Regions from separate parts of the Homo sapiens genome. Here region 1 is linked to region 2. The links are contacts of gene promoters, found by promoter capture Hi-C in human tissues and cell types (Jung and others, 2019). All regions are on one chromosome and are shown on one strand. Each heading gives the region's core, a stretch centred on a gene start or on the middle of the fragment in contact. The rest is flanking DNA. Distances are from core to core; before and after follow the strand shown.

Region 1 (3,355 bases), core at 416-2,915, 270 kb before region 2:
GCCTATAATCCCAGAACTTTGGGAGGCCAAGGCGGGCAGATCACTTGAGGTCAGGAGTTTGAGACCAGCCTGGACAACATGGTGAAACCCCGTCTCTAAAACAAAATGAAACAGAGCAAAAAAAAAAAAAAAAAAAAAGCCCAACAAACAAAAAGTCTTTGTTGTATGGAGTAAGAACTACCTGAGAGCAAATAAGAAAAAAGAAAATTGGAAACAAGCACTTGTTTTCTTCTACCAGGATATAAAATATGCCAAAGAATACAAAAGAGCTATAGGATAGGAACAAAATCTCCACATATCTCAGACTGACACAGAACAAGCTGTTTTATTCCTCAGATATACATGTCTCTACAATGAAACTGCACACAAGGTCCTACTTATTGCTTGCCCCAGAGAGTACTGTTAAATGTACAGAGACTGGGAATATATCTAAATGTGGAGACACTGGTGCCTGTCATTGCTTTTGGGGAAGAGGCACAGATTACCCCATTGGGCACCAATAAGACTGGAGCACTTCAGAATTAGACAGCTGGGATGGAACTATAGAGCCTACCAAACTGAGAATCAACCTTGTGTACCATAAATGTGCTTTTCTTCAGAAGGCCAATCCCACAGGGACTAGGACACAGACCCCATCAGCAATGGTAGTGGCTGCATTACTAATAAAAATACACATGATTCAGGGATACATGGTATCAGGTGCAACTGACCACAACCATCTCATGGTAAATACCTAAGCCTTGAGAGCCTTAAACGCTATTCTAAATATTCTGAAGGAATCTCCTTTCCCAACAACCACTTCATATGCCTAATATTAAATACTCAAATTTTCAGAGTATACTAGCTAGATAAGACACATTTAAATGAAACATTTGCCCAACAAGGATGCCAAACATTAGAGTTTGTTTTATTGCATGACGTTTGCATAAGAAAAAAAGTTATTGAAAACTGTAAGGCATCATGCAATCATTGAATAAGCTAATTATTAACTGTACACTTAAGATAGGTGGACATATAATCTAAAATTTAAAAACTAGTTCCAGAAAAGTACATAAAAAATTTAACATGATGAGCTTTTAAATATGGTTTATAGTTTCATGTTGTTAAAAAGTGCTTCAAATGTACTGCTGGAAAGTTGCTCTTTACAAATGGCGCTGGGGTGATGTCAGATTATAAACTGTAAAAACCAAGTACTTTTATGGAATTAGAAAGCTAACATTGTGATACTCAAACTTACTTGAATCAGTTTTCAATTCTCATTCAAATTAAGTTGATTTAATATTAATAATCTAAAAAACATCTGTTTTATAACCAGCAAAAGTCTATTGAATTCAAGTTATGCATGTTGAGCAATCAAATCTCTGAGTAAGCCTGAACGTTGAGACCTGGAACCAATGTGAGTTTGTGTTAATCAATGTACTGTGCCATCCAGCGGAAGCCTTCTCCGTAACCTTGTCTTTTGAGCACACTACACATGAAAACTTCTAAGGGTCGGGCATTCAGTTCTTTCAGAGATATACTCCCCTAGAATAGAAGAGAGACATTTCGTTGGAATTTTATAAAATTAATAAAGCCCCACATCCCAGCAGAATTATAGGTTCTATTTTAGAACAAAGAATGGCTGTGATAAATCCATGACTGTGATAAAGTCGTGGCTGCTTGGCATCCAAGCCCCATGAACACACAAGAAGCCTCCTTCTCTCACTCTACCTTAGGGCAGGATGGCCACTCAGTGGGAAAGAGGTTAGCTTGCAAGATACCCAAGAATAAAAATAATCTGACTTAGAAAAAAATCCAAACTGGCTTCACTAATATTAAAGACAAACATTCCCTGAGAAGGTTTATGACCAAACAAAGCATTTCCTAAAATTAATATCAAGCTAATTTATAAAAAAGAAGACAGAAAACAGACCAAAGTCTACTTTGTCTGACTTAAGAGCCTCCTGCGGACCGGGCGTGGTGGCTCATGCCTGTAATCTCAGCACTCTGGGAGGCCAAGGCGGGCGGATCACCTGAGGTCAGGAGTTCGAGACCAGACTGACCAACATGGAGAAACCCCGTCTCTACCAAAAATACAAAATTAGCTGGGCGTGCTGGCACACGCCTGTAATCCCAGCTACCAGGGAGGCTGAGGCAGGAGAATCGCTTGAACCTGGGAGGCAGAGGTTGCAATGAGCCGAGATTGCACCATTGTACTCCAGCCTGGGCAACAAGAGCAAAACTCCATCTCAAAAAAAAAAAAAAAGAGCCTCCTGCTATATGCTGCAGTATTTCTCCACCCTGAAATAGTATATGTAAACTAAAAAAATTTTGTAAATCTCTGGGGTTCTTCCACTGTTTATCTGGATTTTTTCAATGCTGATGTTTCCCCCAAAATAAATCCTAGGAAAAGTGAATACCAAAACAATCCGTCTTAAAGCTTATTATAAAGTATATGTTCAGAAAACCGTAAAATATTCCAAGTTTATGTCTTATTTATCTCTGGTAAACTCAGGGCCTAAACACACTACTGGTATACTTAAACACTCAAATATATCGTTTGGTGGCTAATTCTGAAAATGTATGATAAATAACTTTGAAAGCTTTAATTTAGTTTCCTATAAGCACAAGCCTTAGGCATAACTCATCCTTGACATTTTTGTTGTCACCAAGAAAATGTTTCATTCCATGGTAGAAAGAAATGAGGACATTAAAAAGACCCACAGGTATAAATGACAGTTTTCTTTAAGAAAATGATAATGGGCTTGTATAGTTGGACAATAGTAATTTAAGAAGACATTTGTACTGTAGAATTAAACACACCCATCATAATTTTTTTTTTTTTTTTACCTTTCCTGTTGTCTGACCATATAAACCAAACATCTCTCGCAACCTCTCTTCACTGATGGCTTCAGGTCTGTCGATCTTATTCCCAAGAATCAGTATAGGCACATTAGCAATGGTTTCATCTGTCATTAGTGACTGAAAAAAACAAAACAATACAAAACAAGAGTTGATATGAAACCATCCAAAGAGCTTATTTTGATATGATAAAACAATAAAGGACTCATTTTCTACCATATCATGTCATACCAACGTTCTTTGTCAAACTTTCCCCACATTTTAAAGTGACCTCAATGAAACCATAAGCTAAATTCTTCTGTCTTCCTAAGGCTCTTCCTGTAAATGTTTACTCTGCTCATCCTTTAAAGGAGTGACATAGAACGTATAGAGCCAGCACCTTAGAAGTGAACAGATGTGGTTTCACTTCTGGCTCTACTGCTTTTGAGATGTGACTTTGGGCAAGTTAGCCTGACTGAAGCTCTAGAGAGAATTAGGAACAGTAGCATCCACCCTATGAAATTGAGAATTAAAT
Region 2 (3,492 bases), core at 596-3,095:
CATGCCTGTAATCCCAGCTACTTGGGAGGCTGAGATAGGAGAATTGCTTGAACCCGGGGAGGTGGAGATTGCAGTGAGCCAAGATCGCGCCATTGCACTCCAGCCTGGGCAACAAGAGCGAAACTCTTGTCTCAAAAAATAAAAAAATCAAACAAACACACATACAGGAAAGGAAAGGAGATAATAAAAAGGAAGGAGTAGTAACCACAGGGCATCCATGTTGGAGTATCCAGATCAGCTTCCTTTTCATTAGTCATAAATCCTTTTGGTGCTCTGTCCTGTTGGCTTTTCATGCACCTTCAAATCATGTATGGGGGTATGAGAAAGATAGTTTAAAAAGGAAAGGTTTGTTGTTCCACTGTTAGGGGTGAGGGAGGTACTTAGCGAAATGATGACTAGTAATAAGCTCTAGAACTGTGGGCTCTTTTATCCATGTCCATTGTTTCATATTCTTCTGGACCCACAAGATGGCACTTGAGGATCTACAACAGCAAAACCATACCAACGTATTTAGAATAAAAGAATCATCCACAGGGACAGATTAATGATGCATCTTTCTGGCCTAACAGTGTCTTTTTGATGGGCATAGAGATAAGGGGACTATGGCCACACCATCAGAATTGTATTATTCAATTAATAATGCCTACCACTTTGAAATGCTTCCTGTGCCCCAGGACACTGTGCTCATCACTTTACATCTCATTTCATCTATAAGACTCTATATAACGTCATTTCCACTTTACAGCTGAAGAAACTTAACTTTAAGTTACATAACCTGCTGACTGTGAACTATCACATGTGCTGAAGTTGGGATTCACCAAGCGGCCAAAAAGCACAGGTTCCCCTTACCATTGCTATGTTAACCAATAGACTGATGTATTTTAAATCAGTTTCTATTTTTTCAACCTCATAAGTTTGAAAAGCTGCACTCTGCACTGATTTAGCACTGACTGGTGGCTGCTTAAAGCTTGCCTTATTCCATTTTAGCAGGCCCCCCGGCAAAATACCCCAATTAGTGGTGTCATCCTCTCTATTCCAAGAATTTTCTCTTAAGACTCCCGCTCTGTGCGTTTGCTTGGGAATGCAGAGCCCTGTTCCTCATCTCCCCATCTATGCTTTCTTCATTCTAAGCCCTTTCCTATCTACTTTATGCTCGAGGTGGCTCCACCTCCACCATGAGCCAGAGCCAATGATGCTCACGGCCCCAACCATGATTAAAAAGAGATTGCCCTGCAAGGTAAATCAGTTAAAACCAACCTCTCCTGCCCTGAGTGGATAGGTAGGGTTAGGGTTGCCAGATGTCACGAAGTTACAGGATGCTCAGTTTTAAGGTATATCCCTTATACTATAAGGGTTATAGTAAAAAATATTCATTATGTGAAATTCAAATATAACTGGGTATCAGGTATTCTATGTGGCAACCCTAGGTAGGGGAGCACAGGTTAGGCAAGCGATTAGAAGATTTGCAGCCTCCAAAGTTTCTGCACCTCGATGGGACACTAGAACAGGAAGGCTCCTGGGCCTTTCTGGCTCTGGGAATGAAGCGTGGAAAACCCTCCTTAGGCGGGCGCAGTGCTTCAAGTAGCCAAGCTCTGACTTCCGAGGGAAGAAAGGAGGCCATGGGCCTCTGCCAGAGCCATGCTCTGCACTCTGGGGTCAGCAGAGTTCAAAACGACCTGCAACGTCTGGCGCTTAGCTCCTAAAGAGGTCTCCAGTCCAGCGCCGACGGCCAGCGGCTAGAGGCCGTCCGCCCGACTCCAAGATGGCGCCCGCCACAGCTGCCAGGTGTTAAGATGGCGGCGCGGGGCCGCGCCCGCGCTCCCAGGCTCTCCTCCCCCAGCCTTCCTCCGGCTGGCAGCACGACTCGCGTAGCCGTGCGCCGATTGCCTCTCGGCCTGGGCAATGGTCCCGGCTGCCGGTCGACGACCGCCCCGCGTCATGCGGCTCCTCGGCTGGTGGCAAGTATTGCTGTGGGTGCTGGGACTTCCCGTCCGCGGCGTGGAGGGTGAGTGTGGGCCGGGGGCGGTGCATGAGATGATGGGGCGAGCTGAGGTCCACCCGGGCGACGCTCTGGACCTGCGCGAAGGCCGGCGGTGCGCGACTCGCCCCTTCTTGGCGTCTCCCCGGGCGCGTCTCCCCGACTTCTCTCCCCGCGCACCGCCCGCTGGTGGCCCGCGAAAGGGGGCCGGTGGGCTGAGGGCCGGTGGACGGGAGCCCGGGGGTGGTTGGGCCGCGTTCAGGCCGCCCTCAGCCCGTGGCTGGTAGCCAGGAGGGACAGTGCGGTAAGCGCTGCTGAGGCATACCCTCTGGTGATAAGCAATTTATTATTAATAACATTATATCAAATACCGACATTGTTGTGGCCGTATTAGGAGCCAGGAACTGTGCATCGTGCTTTATTTACATCATTATCCCATTTAATGCTCCCACAAACCCTGTCAGATCGGTTCCGTTTAGTGTCTCCATTTCACAGATGAAGATGCTCAGGCCCCGCCTAAGTTTGCGCTTCTGATACGTGGCAGAAGCCTGTCTCTCTGACGCCAAAGCCCAGTCTGGAGTCCACGCTGCTGGACCACTGTCTTAAGGAGGCCAGTCTTGCTCAGCTCCCTGCATGAAAAACAGACGAGAAACACGGGAGACTCCCGGTAACCCCCAACTTGCCGGTAGGGAAGGCAGCCACTCTAGAGGCATGGCGAGGGTGGAGAGTGGAGGCCTTACTTTCATGCTCCTTCACCCCACTCCTCATAGTCCTGTTAAAGTCCAGACCCTCGGTCTCGCTTGTCATTTAGACCTTAACAGGAATAGGCAGGTCTTTCTTTTCCCTGGGGTGTCCTGGATGGAGGCAGGACAGCAGAGAGTTGTGGAGAAGGGTGAGTCATAGTAACACAATTACCATGAATGAAAGCGCTCACTGTGTACCAGATGCTGTGCTCAGTGCTTTACGAGCATCATCTTTTGGAATCTTTACTGTTTTGTTTTTGTTTTTTTAAGGGATGAGGGCTTGCTCTGTTGCCCAGGCGGGAGTGCAGTGGCCCATCATGGCTCCCTGCAGCCTTGAACTCCTGGGCTTAAGTGATCCTCCCACCTGTTTCCCAAAGTGCTGGGATTACAGATGTGAGCCACTGCTCCCGGTTTATGTAATTTTTATTTTTATTTTTTTTTGAGATGGAGTCTCGCTCTGTTGCCCAGGCTGGAGTGCAGTGGCGCGATCTTGGCTCACTGCAACCTCTGACTCCCGGGTTCAAGCGATTCTCGTGCCTCAGCCTCCTGAGTAGCTGGGATTACAGGTGCCTGCCACCACACTGGGCTAATTTTTGTATTTTTAGTAGAGATGATGGTCCACCATGTTGGCCACGCTGGTCTGGAACTCCTGACCTCAGGTGATCCACCCACCTCGGCCTCCCAGAGTGCTGGGATTACAGGCTTGAGCCACCGTGCCTGGCCTTAGTAATTTTTAAATGCATATGCAGTAGATGTTATCATGCTCATTTT

The links. Contacts are between HindIII fragments. The study calls those that stand out against the background at their distance.
Region 1: a contact is called between a fragment that was not itself captured here and the fragment with the promoter of TXNDC15 in region 2, in 1 of the 25 tissues and cell types used here (lymphoblastoid cells).

The regions. Positions count from the first base shown.
Region 1 is chr5:134,605,543-134,608,897 of GRCh38, forward strand. It overlaps SAR1B (secretion associated Ras related GTPase 1B), which reads right to left. Exons shown (of 7, transcript NM_016103.4): 6 at 2,830-2,961; 7 at 1-1,524. The coding sequence ends at 1,408. Among named protein-coding and RNA genes, the nearest start is that of SAR1B, 26 kb to the right of the region's middle. The HindIII fragment of the contact is 3,877 bases long and covers 1-3,355 here.
Region 2 is chr5:134,872,526-134,876,017 of GRCh38, forward strand. It overlaps TXNDC15 (thioredoxin domain containing 15), which reads left to right and starts at 1,846. Exons shown (of 5, transcript NM_024715.4): 1 at 1,846-2,005. The coding sequence starts at 1,903. LOC124901071 (a long non-coding RNA gene) reads right to left here and starts at 2,873. Exons shown (of 2, transcript XR_007058943.1): 1 at 2,719-2,873; 2 at 2,306-2,607. RefSeq lists enhancers at 1,522-1,571, 1,592-1,881, 1,813-2,518, 2,412-2,481 and a silencer at 2,122-2,231. The HindIII fragment of the contact is 4,499 bases long and covers 1-2,819 here.